3 separate regions of the Homo sapiens genome follow, and regions 2 and 3 are each linked to region 1. Evidence: promoter capture Hi-C in 16 types of primary human blood cells and fetal thymus (Javierre and others, 2016). All regions are on one chromosome and are shown on one strand. Each heading gives the region's core, a stretch centred on a gene start or on the middle of the fragment in contact. The rest is flanking DNA. Distances are from core to core; before and after follow the strand shown.

Evidence for each region. Contacts are between HindIII fragments. The CHiCAGO score rates a contact against its expected background, and 5 or more counts as called.
Region 2: a contact is called between a fragment that was not itself captured here and the fragment with the promoter of MFF in region 1, in 1 of 17 cell types (M2 macrophages). The highest score is 6.5, in M2 macrophages.
Region 3: a contact is called between a fragment that was not itself captured here and the fragment with the promoter of MFF in region 1, in 1 of 17 cell types (total CD4 T cells). The highest score is 5.6, in total CD4 T cells.

The regions. Positions count from the first base shown.
Region 1 is chr2:227,323,433-227,327,223 of GRCh38, reverse strand. MFF (mitochondrial fission factor) reads right to left here and starts at 1,973. Exons shown (of 9, transcript NM_001277062.2): 1 at 1,797-1,973. MFF-DT (MFF divergent transcript) reads left to right here and starts at 2,060. Exons shown (of 14, transcript NR_102371.1): 1 at 2,060-2,106. RefSeq lists a silencer at 1,632-1,921 and an enhancer at 2,102-2,151. The HindIII fragment of the contact is 6,653 bases long and covers 1-3,791 here.
Region 2 is chr2:225,037,791-225,041,773 of GRCh38, reverse strand. The region is part of intron 1 of DOCK10 (dedicator of cytokinesis 10); the gene reads left to right. Among named protein-coding and RNA genes, the nearest start is that of DOCK10, 2.7 kb to the left of the region's middle. RefSeq lists an enhancer at 260-599. The HindIII fragment of the contact is 1,891 bases long and covers 602-2,492 here.
Region 3 is chr2:224,925,065-224,929,166 of GRCh38, reverse strand. The region is part of intron 2 of DOCK10 (dedicator of cytokinesis 10); the gene reads left to right. Among named protein-coding and RNA genes, the nearest start is that of MIR4439, 83 kb to the left of the region's middle. The HindIII fragment of the contact is 1,364 bases long and covers 1,241-2,604 here.

The DNA.
Region 1 (3,791 bases), core at 724-3,223:
CCCAAACACCAGTAACTAACTTGCCAACTTCATGGGTTTTTTTTTTCCCATATTCACAGAGTACATTAACTTTTTGCTACAGTTAATTTTTTTAACTCGACTTTTTAAAATCAAAAAAGTATTGTAAAAGAAAATTTTGTATCACTACCTTAAACCATGGCTGTACATATATAAATACAGATTGCAAAAACATCCTATTACAAAAAAATCCTCATCCACGTACCGCCTAGAGTCAAGTCACATGCCACTAGCGGAAAGTGTACCAATTTTGGGACACAATGATTCCAGCCCAACTTTCTCATTTTCTGTATTAGAACACTGGAACCCAGAAAGCCTCGGAAGTCACCGAAACAACTTGAGTCAAACTGACTGTGGTTGCAAATGTTTATGTACTTTTCAAAAACAAACATACAAACAAACAAAAACAAACCAAAAAAAACCCTCCAGTTGTTTATTACCTACTGCGTGGACCTAGTTCACACAGATGGGCCACTCTGCACACCCTGTTTCAGTTCTTTTTCAAAGAAACTATATTTAAAAAGTCACTGCAAACTTTTAAAACTATATATTAATGAACTTTAAAATAAGGTTATGAACCCACAGAAAAGTTTCAATACCAGAAGAGAGGAGAGCGAAGACTAAACTTTGCAATTCTGAAAGGAGGCAGCTCTATCAGACAGGAAGGGAGAGAACACAATTTCCTTTTGGAAAAAATGGCAAAACCAATATACAAGCCTTTGAAACCAAAAGATAGAAGGTCCCCCAAGCAATTTAATTGCATGGGAAAAGACTACTAAGTATAACTAAATCGTCCTAATTTTCCTAAGGGTTTTTCTTTTGGGCTCTCATTAGCCAACGGAATTGAGGCAGAAAAAATGTTTTTCACGCAGGGAGACAAAACATTTGTGATCATCTTAAGTCTCTCGGTGGATGAGAGGCCTGAATACAAATGGTTCTATATTTGGGCAGAAGGGCCAGAAACCTTTTTTTTTTTTTTCCCCTTTAATGTTCTCCAATGAAAACATGTCACTTTTGAAAGGGTGCTCTTCCCTCGAGAATGCCCTTTGCTTCTAACTTTGTGGGAGGTAGACAGGGGTGTTCTTTTACGATAGTAATAGTAGCACACGTCCTGCAGAGGAAGGTCAGAAGCTCGGCGGAACAGGAACCGCAGCTTTCCTCCGGCTTCCCAGCTCCTGGAAGGAAACCCGAGAGCAACTGCCTGCAGCCACATCTGCGAGCAGGGATGCTCACAGACGGACAGGGTGGCCCGCAGCCACCCGCGATGCCACAACCTGGGCTTCCAACAAGGCCCTTCTTTTCCAAAATGTACTTGCCACAAAACAACACAAAAACCTCCTTTTAAACAAGGCAGGTTTAAGGTCAGCCTGTAAGGTGTCAGGGCCTTGGCAGGGAAGGATGAGTGAAGACCTGCAAAGCCCGGCGTTCACGCTCACGGGACTCCCGCTGCTTCCCAAACCCCTATTTTCCAGTCGGAAAAGTCCGGGTTAATACACAAAAGGAGACGCCGAACCACACAAGGTGAAGAGGTTCGCCCAAAAACACCTGCAGAAGACGCTCCTCTCCCTCGCTCTCCTCGGGGACTCAAGGTCCCGGGGAGGAGGAAAGACCAGGGTTGAAGGCAAGAGGCCCGGGGACGGGACTCGGGTCAGGGAGACACTACCGGGGGGGCCGGGGCCACCGCGGGTCCCTGTTGGCCGGAGGGTCTCGGCGGCGGCGATAGGCCTGGCAGCCAGCTCGGGCGGCAGGTCGCGGGTCGGGAAGACGTCAACACTCACCCCTGGGCCCACAGGAGGGTCCCGGCGAGGACCCCCGCCCTCTGGCTCCCGGGGCGCTCGAGTGGGCGCTCTCAGAGGTGGTTGGCTGAGAGCACGGAGGCGCCCAGGGACAGCACCGGCGGAGCGGCCCGCAGAGGGCCAGGGCAGAAGCGCGAAAGGCGCGGGCTGGCCCCTTCTGGGAGCCGTAGCGGAAGAGTGTTCGTGGTCATGTGACGCGGAAAAGGGCGGACGCGTGGCCCACGCACTGGAACGGCTCCACGGTAAGCGATGCGCAGACATCTTTGTTGTGGGCGAAACGAGGTGACCGCAGGTGACTCCTCTTGCGGTTAAGTTTAATTCACACTTCGGCTTTATTAGATTTTGTAATCTTTAAGAACTTGGTGTTTGCAAGGTAAACCTTTGGTAGCCAATTAAAACAACTTTTTCAGGACCATCTGGCATGAAAATTTCTATGCTGTGAGGCTTAGGAATTCTCATATGTAAATCAGCTCCGCCAGTGATTCCATGAGTTCCAATTTGATACTTCTTAAGCCCTCGGTTGATCAGACCTTGTCTTCCATGAGAATTCCGGGAGAGGGGAAGTTAAGTTTCACAGTAGTTGGCGGCATCGTTTAGCTTTGGGAGAGCACTCTCTGCTTCTGAACACCCAACCACAGACTCTTCCCCCCAGGAAGCCCTTGCTTAGAGCGGGGGAAAAATGGTACAGTGCTTGTCAGTATGGGAATGTACTGAGGCCAAATAATGTGATATTTTATATGCCTTGGTTTTCACAAACACCTAAAGGTGTACACATGACTTATGTACTCCCCTACGATCTAATTGATATTCTAGAGATGTTACCATTCTTCAAAATGATTTGGGAAGCCCTCTGAATTGCGTTCTTGGGCTTCTTAACACTGGTGTAGGGAAAGTGAAAATATTTCCTCTCCCCTCTTGGGGTCTTGGCTGGGCCTAAGAATTAAACTGATGAGGAAAAGAGTCAAACTCTAAAATATTTGAAGAGATTTATTCTGAGCCAAATGTGAGTGACCATGGCCCGTGACAGAGCCCTCAGGAGGTCCTGAGAACATGTGTCCAAGGTGGTTGGGGCGCAGCTTGGTTTTATGTATTTTAGGGAGGCATGAGACATCAATCAAATAAATTTAAGAACTACATTGGTTTGGTTCAGAAAGGTGGGACAACTCAAAGCAGGGGCTTCCAAGGCTGTAGGTAAATTTAAACATTTTCTGGTTGACAGTTGAAGACCTGGGACCCATAGAAAGGAAATGTTGAGGTTAAAATAAAAGATTGTGGAGACCAAGGTTCTTTTGAAGTCTTATAGTGGCTGCCCTTAGAGACAATGGATGACAAATGTTTCCTATTCAGATCTTTAAAAGGTGCTAGATTCTTACGTAATCTCTTTAGGATTGGGAGGACCTGGAAGAAAATGATCTAGCTATGTTAATAGAAATTCTATGTAGATGCAGATTTTCCCCCAACAAAGGACAGCTTTGCAGAGCCGTTTCAAGATATGTCAAAAACTAAAAAAAATGTTTTGCGGTAAAATATTTTGATTTTGTTTCTTGTCTCGTTATGCCAGTGTCAGATTGGAAAGTAAGTCACAATATATAGGGTTAAATAAAACCCATCTGATGAGAATTTATGGATTGTAGGGCATGAATCCCTAGGCCCCTTAGATAGGAATTTGAGCAAGATTAAAAAAAAAATCAGAGCTTAGTCTCCACTGACGTAAAATAGAGACATAAAACATAACAGGAGGAAAGCATACAAATTTTATTTAGTAATTTTTACATTTACATTGGAGCCTTCCCTAGAAAAATGGAGACCCAAATTAACAGTTGGACCCTAAGTGCTTTTGAGTCTCCATTTTTCTAGGGAAGGCTAAAAAGAGTAGTAAATTGTGAAAATGTGAGAAAACAAACAGATTTGGGTTAGTGCAGTTAATGCAGAAGTGACTAAGAAGATAAAGGTTGTTGTAACAAAGTGGAAATGAAA
Region 2 (3,983 bases), core at 298-2,797, 2.3 Mb after region 1:
CTGGTTAGAGCTGGGGCCCCCCGACGTTAACTATCGCAGAAATAGATGTACTTGGAACAGCCCTCCCACCGCAGGGTAAAAACCCACAAACCACTTAATACTCCTCCAGAAAGGGCTGAGGAACACAGGCTGGAGGAGACGTGGGTCATTAGGTCTCCAGCGGTTTCTGATATTTTTCTAAGATGTTTCGCGGGGTTCTCCCACCAGCAATGCTTTACTGGTTACTTCCTTATTGAAACGGCTTCTAAGTGCTGGGTGATTTCCGCGGGAAGTCCCTGGGGCAGCAGCCAGCATCTGATGCTAGGATCCTATCCATACCAACCCAGATGTTCCTGCGTTGCAGTAGGTCCACACTGCCGGGGAGAGGTGGCAAGAGACAAATCAACTCTAGTGGAAACGGGAAGCGAGTGGGAACAACAGCCTCACAGCAAGACCGGGGCTCAGCAGCCGCGCTCTTGGCCTGCGTTTGGTGGACCGGAATCCGGGTTGTGTGTTTCATTTTCTTTTTTGCCAGAAAATATCATTAGGAACTAAACGGCTCTTTTTAAGAGTGTGAAAGTGTTACTCTTGCCAGTCACCAATGAGGAGGGCGCCAAAAGCTTCCCAGAGCCAGTTCCCACAGCCAGGACTATTCTCTAAAGCCAGAGGTCGGAAAGTTGAACAGAACGGAAGCAAATTGCCTGGCAGAGGGAAGAGGCATCGGGTGCCCAGGGGGTGTAGAGCGGGCGGGGGTGATTGGAGTGTGAAACGAATTGGTGGCCAGGGTGCCTTCTCTTGCACTTACACTAGCTGCAGTCCGCAGTTACCCAGAGGTGGTTCAACTGTTAGCTCACTCTGTGCCAGGGACAGCATGTGGTACTGCTATCAGCGTGCACATTTTCAGGACACCAAAGACAAACTGTTCAAAAGAACATTAGAAGAAAAGATTCAATTCGAGTAAAAGTAGAGATAAGAAAATCTCCACACAGTAGTAGAAAGTACTTTTTACTTTTGAATGATCATTCAGAATTGTGGTTTTGTCATTTTCTGCCATTCCCTTGACAAAAACTTTATTTTGCAATTGACTCATTGGACTGAATCTCACTGAGGATCTGATGGAAACACACAGCGTTCAATTGGAATAAACAGCTTAAACTGTTGTGTGTTTTTTTAAATGTAGATCCTCCTAGAATTTTTGTGGCACTAGAATTTCTATAAAGATTATGTATCCCAGATACCCTTCTACACCACACACACACACACACACACACACACACACACGCACTGCTTTCTCCAAAATTATGTCAGATTTGAAATCCTAGGGTATCTTGTCAAAATGAATAAGCTCGCTGTCTTTAAAAAGAGGTGGGGGAGGGGAGATTCAGTGGCAAAGGTGGTCCTGACTCCCCTTGCTTCGCTTCAGCACCTTGGCCAACACTCCTAAACTAGCTTTTGCCAAGACATTTCATGGGATCTTACACATCTAGGCAGGCAGTTTTGGCTGCTATTTTGGCAGCAAGAACGCATGTGCTTTGCATACTATCCCATCAGTTAACTCTTGAAGGGAAACAGGAAGGTGATGAGTTCTCTGAGCTGGCACCTGAACTCGGTGGGATTCTGTGGGTGTAGAGCATCCCTTCTGAACCTAAAACCGTGTCATTGGACTATGTGGTAGAGACTAATCTTAGCGTACATTGATGCAATCCCTTAAGACTCTTCATATCTGTTGCTTCAAGTTCTCAAAACATGGTTGTCAAGGGAGAAAAATGATAGGATGTTGGGGAAAATATTATGGATATCCGACTTCAGTACAGACTCATAGAACCGCGGGTGTGTATTGGAGCAAGCCATCCTCTATTGCAAGGTATTTGAAAGAGACTAGAAACTCCTGCTGAGAAAAAGTATCTTACTGCTAGATTTGTATATTCCCCTTTCTGAAATCCCTGTCTTGGGGACACAAATCCTCCAGGACATTGCCAAAAGATTGCCATAGGGTTTGAATTCTGCTCTCTCCAATAAGTTTAGGTAAGGTTGTCAGGTTAACAAGATAGTTTTCTTCCCTGAGAATGGGGTGTGTATACAGAGAGAGAGAGAGAGAGAGAGAGAGAAGACAGGAAGCCTTCAAAATGTGTTTGAATATGGAGAGGAGAGATCAAGGAGATGCTGAGTGAGGGTAATGACTGGGAAAGCCAAATTTTAAGGCAGTTGTTGAGGACAATACAGGTGTATGCCAAAGCAAATTTGATGTCAGTTTTTACCCAAAGCACTGTATGTAGTAGGCTTATGTACTTGCAGACTCCTAGACACGAACCACCTTATTCTTCACCCCTCCCAAGAACAGTAATGAACAAAAACATACATTTCAAAAGGAGAAATATTTGCTCCTTCATTATCCTAAAATTCCCCATAGAAAATAAATGAAAGACAACTCATTCGAAGATCAATTCAAAGGATCATGTCAAGTTCTCATAATTTCCTGAAATCTCATTCCTGATTGTTTCATAAAGCAAGCTTCTCTAGGGTAGAATTTCAGCCCGAAAATGATTAGAAACATTTGTCTCATATCAGAACTGGAGTGTTTTATTACATTGGTTGAATATACATACCATGTTGGCTTCAAAGTTGTAATGCCACTAATTAGAAATTCCTTTTTGATAAGAAGCTCATCTTTTAAAATGAATGAAGTGTATCTGTACCCTAGCATGAATTAGTTCATTTAGATAGCTTTCTATAATTCATTAAGATATACATTTAGGATTTGTGCACTTTTCTGCATATATATTGTATTTGAGAGCATTTCAAAAGAAAAGACTTTTTAAAAAAAGTATAGGTAAACTTTTTGCAAACACCCCATCAGATCTGTCACTTTGAGAGAAATGGAGTTTTATTTATGGAATGTTTTAGGTGGGTTAGTGCAATGGAAGGCTTCAGATAACCAGAAGGATGAGATCTACATAGAGTCAGATGATGGAAAGGAAGCATTTACTAGAGATCAAATAATCATTTGGTCAGTTTTAGCCCAAAGCCGTTCATCTATTTCCTAGACTGGAGCTTACCACTTTAGTTACATGCACTTTTAATGCCTTTATATTTACTCTATTATTAGACAAAAACTCCTTTGCAACTCCTTTTTAATTGTATCTAATTTTGTTATTAACTCATTTTAAAGAGAAAGCATCCTGCCGGAAGTGATTATACTTAACCAGGAGGTTTTCTCCCTTCCTACCCACCCAGAAAGTGTAAGGGGTAAAGAGGGGAAAGTATTTATTTCAGTAAATTCCATTTCCCTTCTTTGATGTTTCCTAACTCTTCAGACCTCCAATAATACCACTTTTGATATTTTAGAGAGCTTTGAGTAAGAAGCGGAACCTTTGACCAACCAAAGAGCTTTGATTGAGAAGTAATGAATATGTAAACATGTTTACGTGAGCGTGAGGAATTCCTAGAAGGAAGAATTTTCTCCCCTCTGAACTTGGTGGCATTCAAGAGTTGAGAGTAGGAGGGATTTTTTTTTTTTTAATTGAGTGGGGGATACTGGAATTTCCCAAAAGTCATATGCTAGATGCAGAAAGTGATAGCAAATGAAAGTGAAGCACTTGTTTTGCTGTCGCTATCCAGATTTAAAAGCAATATGCAATATAAGGGCCTGGTTGTTTAGCATTCACAGCACAGTCTTTTTATTTTGTTTGTGTTTTTTGCTTTGTTTTGTTGTTTGTTGTTCTGGACAGAGTCCTTTATGACAAGGGTGTTTATGGTTTAGCAGAAATCACACGGTTATGTTTTCATATGAGGAAAGTCCCTTGACCTCTTTGCCTGGAGAAGAAGTCAACACAAACTTAGTTTACAAGATCAAGTTTGAATGTTACTTGTGTGTCTGCCAATGTTTTTTATTTCTCAAGGGCATTGGAGAAATAACTTTGAAAATGAATAGTAACCACAAGTAGGTTCTAGAAAACTTCTAGAAGGATCAAAGGCTGAAAGAATGAGTCAACATGTATAGGTTT
Region 3 (4,102 bases), core at 673-3,172, 2.4 Mb after region 1:
TGAGGAAAATAAAACTAGGCAGAATCTGATGATAGAATCTGAGTAGGGTAAGAGCTGTGTTGGTCTAGGTGACCAGGGACAAGCCTCTCTAAGAAGGCGACATTTAAGCTGAGTTCTGAGTTCTCAAGAAGGATCAGCCATGCTGGGGAAAGCATGTTTCAGGCTAAAGGGGTAGCTGGTGCAAAGGCCCTGAAGAGCTCCAAGATTGGAGATTGGTATGGCTGGACAGGATAAGGCGTTTGCATCTTATTCTAACTATAGGCAAGGGCAAGTCACAGGAGTGTTTCAAGAAGGAAAACAAATGACTGAGTGTGGATTCCTAAATATTAAAAGTTCATCTGGGCTCTGTGTGGAAAACACAAAACAAGGCCTAGACAAAGTGGGGAGTGTGATCCAAAGAATCATTTCCAATTAATCTCTGCCCAAGAGATTTTCAATGCTACCTAATCCTTACTATCAGCAAATGTCACATCCTCCAAATGGCTAAATTTTAATTTGCATTAAGCAACTGACAAACAAAAGGATAGTGTTAGATATTATCTCTACATAAAATTGCCTATTTTTGAATAATAGTGGAGATTGTTCCTCATTTTAACTGCTCTACAGAGTACAGCTTGGCAAACTGTCGCCCATGGGTGACCTGCTGCCTATTTTTTATGTCCCATGAGCTAAGAATGGTTTTTATGGTTGTTAAAATAGCTTAGGGAAAAAAAGATGATATTTCAAAACACATTAAAATTATCTGAAATTCAAATTCTGATACCCATAAAGAAAGTTTTATTGAACACGGACACCATTCCTTGACCTCTTGTCAGTGGCTGCTTTCATGATGTAAAGGCAGGGTTGCAACAGAGTTGCAGTAGAAGCAACAGAGACATTCAGCCGGAAAAGATTTATTCTTTGACGCTTTACAGAAAAAGTTGGCTGACATAGAGTACAACTGCATGCATTTTTGGTTTTTATCCTCACACTCTTTGTGGAATATAGGCGTGTCTGTAAATCTCTGATGTTACCTGCTTCACCCACAGCCTATGTCACATTTTAGGGACGTGGCGCACCAACAGGAAGTGTCCATGCAGTCAGCAAGCATGTCATTTCATCAGCTCTCCCTTCAGCAGTGGGTGAGGCTCCTCTGGGGTGTGTGGAGTCAATCTCCACGGAGTCAATGTGAAGTGGTCATAGAATGACCACCCCAATCCCAAGGCATTGAGGGATGGAAGGAGAGGGGCCGCTCCAAGCTTCCCACCCCCACCTCTAAATGTCTTTCATCCAGTTTCTGCCCTGCAGATTGGAGAATCCAGCTCACTTGTATGTTTCCACGTTACCAAGCACCCACACTTGCAGCACACATGATTCATTACTCGGTTTGTTTAATCAATATTTATTCAGCACCCACGAGCTGCTGAATATAGAACAGCACTTCCTAGACTAGTGAGACTGACAAGAAAAGCAAAAGCCCTGTGTTTAAGGAGCTCATGCCCTTTTATGGATGAAAAAGCAAGTTGATTTAGAATGCTTATGGTTAAGAAATACCGAGAATCAGAGACTTCGTCTGGTATCTGGTACACGAGAAAGATTACTTTTCACCAAGGCAGTATTCTTATATTGTGACTGTATATATTAAAAGTTTTTCTCTATTCACTCTGCTGTCCCAAGCCACAAATACCCTCATTTGCCTGGACCATACCTCCCCTCCAAGAAGTGGTTTTGTAACTGGTCCTCCTGCTTTCTTCTTTGCTCCGCTTTGATTCGTTCACACACAGTACTCAATGGAAGCTGTTAGGAACACAAATTAGATAACGCCATGCCTCTGGTTAAAACTTCTCAGTGGCTTCCCATTGCCTTAAGAGTCAAATCCAGCTCCTCCCATAACCCCTGTCATCTGGTTCCCCATGTTCTCTGAGCTCTCATCTAGCCTACTTTCCTCAGTCACTGCACAGACATCAAGCATTCTTTCTGTTCCCCCAACTTGCCAAGCTCATCCTCTCGGTAGGGCCTTTACACTCTCTGTATAGCTGGTTCCTATTTTTCAGTCACAACTCAGTTTAAATGTCACCTCTACAAAGAAGCATCCCTGACTTCCAAGCTACATTGCCCTCACACCCAGTTACTTTATAACATGACCCCACCTGCTTCTCTTGATAACACTTATCACCACTGGGAAATATCTTGGTTTGCTTTTTCACTCCTCTGTCACTTGTTTCTCACTGTTAGACAGTAGCCTCTAGCAGGACAGAGACTTCTTCTGTCTTGATTGTTGAAAGATTTTCAGCAGCTAAAGCAGAACTTGGCACAAAGCAGATGGAAAATAAATATTTATTTCATGAATTATCTTTCAGAAACATCTAGATTGCTATTTTATAACATAATGTTGATCCCTTGAGTACCTTGAGGAACCAAAAGGCTTTTCTGAAACAAAATTCTTGAGAACAAAGAGGATGAAGTAATTGGCTTTGCTTGATGGTAAGGAAAATACTTCCTGCTTTGGCACAACTCAACTCAACATATCACCTTAAAAAACAGCACTAAGAACACGTTTCCCTTTTTAAAGAGGCCCATTCCTTCTAACATAGTGCCTGGCTCATAGCTGATATCAGCAAAGCTTAGTTTCCTCCTTTTAACACTTTTTTTTAAAGAGATGGAGTCTCGCTCTGTTATCCAGGCTGGAGTGTAGTGGGAAGTCACTGCAGCCTCAAACTTGGCCTCTCAAAGTGCTGGGATTACAGGCGTGAGCCACTGCACCCAGCCCTCTAACACTTTAGTGTACTTCTTCACTTACTCATTCACTTCCTTTCTGTTACTAGACAAGGGACAAATCAGTTCATATCTGTACTTCAAGTACCCAACACAATGTCTGATTCATAGGCATTCAATAGATTATCAAACATTGAATTAAAATAGTTTTCTTCCAGGTTGAGGGCCTGACACAGAAGCACTTTCCTTTATTTTGGCACACCAGGTAGAAGCTAGTCCTCCTTGTATGTGGGTTCTGGGACTAAGCAGTATGAACTCCTGCACTACATGTGTCCTAATGATTCACTAAAATAAGCAGTATTGATGTATTTATTAAGCCATTCATTGCAAAAACTTGTACTGCTTCAATAATTGTATTTGCTACTTTTTTTCATCTTTCTTTTTCAAGCTGGTAGTAATAGAAACTTTAAAACAAAACAAAAAATAAAGAACTTAGTCACCAAAGTGTGTGACTCAGTAAAGTGGCAAAGAAAGTAAGAAAAGAAAGCAAGGGCTAAGAAAAATGGTTTCAAGGACACATTGAATCATATTGTCAAATGATTCAGTTTAAGAAAAGACTGATGCAAAATAGCAGAAAAAAAGTTGAGAAAGTCAGAAATGAGTTTCTTCCTGAGCAAAAGATGTAGAAAGCCTGAGATGGGATCATTTCTGGGAAGTACAAAACCATAAATAAGAAAGTTCTGATGTCTGAAAGCTGGTAAGACTGTACACTGTGTAGGAAGACCACCTATCAACTATACTTCAATTTTGTCCACACCAGTAAAACTCTATTTCAATTTACCTTCATGGACCACCTTTGGTGATCTAAGCTGTTTATATCCAGGACACCAATACGAATAAGAAGCAGACCTTACACTTGAACAGTTAGACTTTCAACACCGGGCAGTGCAATTTTCAAAGTCAAAAGTCTATGTCACATGACTACAGTCACCTAAGAGTCTCATTATCTTCTCAAATTCCATCTTCATATTAGTAGGTCAGAATTGTGTCCCAGGGTACTCAAAGGCATTCTGCACTTTTCACTGGCTATTAAAACTCAGAATAGTGGATATCATAATATACCAATGGCTTGTTCTTTTCATAGTATGTCTTTAGCAATGAAAAGCAAATGGTATATGGGGACTTCTAGACTCAACCACAAGGGTCATTCTAGGAAAGGAAGCAGAAAGATTTGAATATGTTTTAAACTGCAAATCAGTAAGGTCATGAGTTTTCTTTCTTTTTTTTTTTCTGAGACAAAGGTTAACATTTTATAAGAATCTCAACCTCTTTTAAATCTGTGGCTTTTGAGCCTGAAAAGCAGGCTTTTAAACGGCTCCTGGTGTTCATGTAAGAACATTGTAATTTC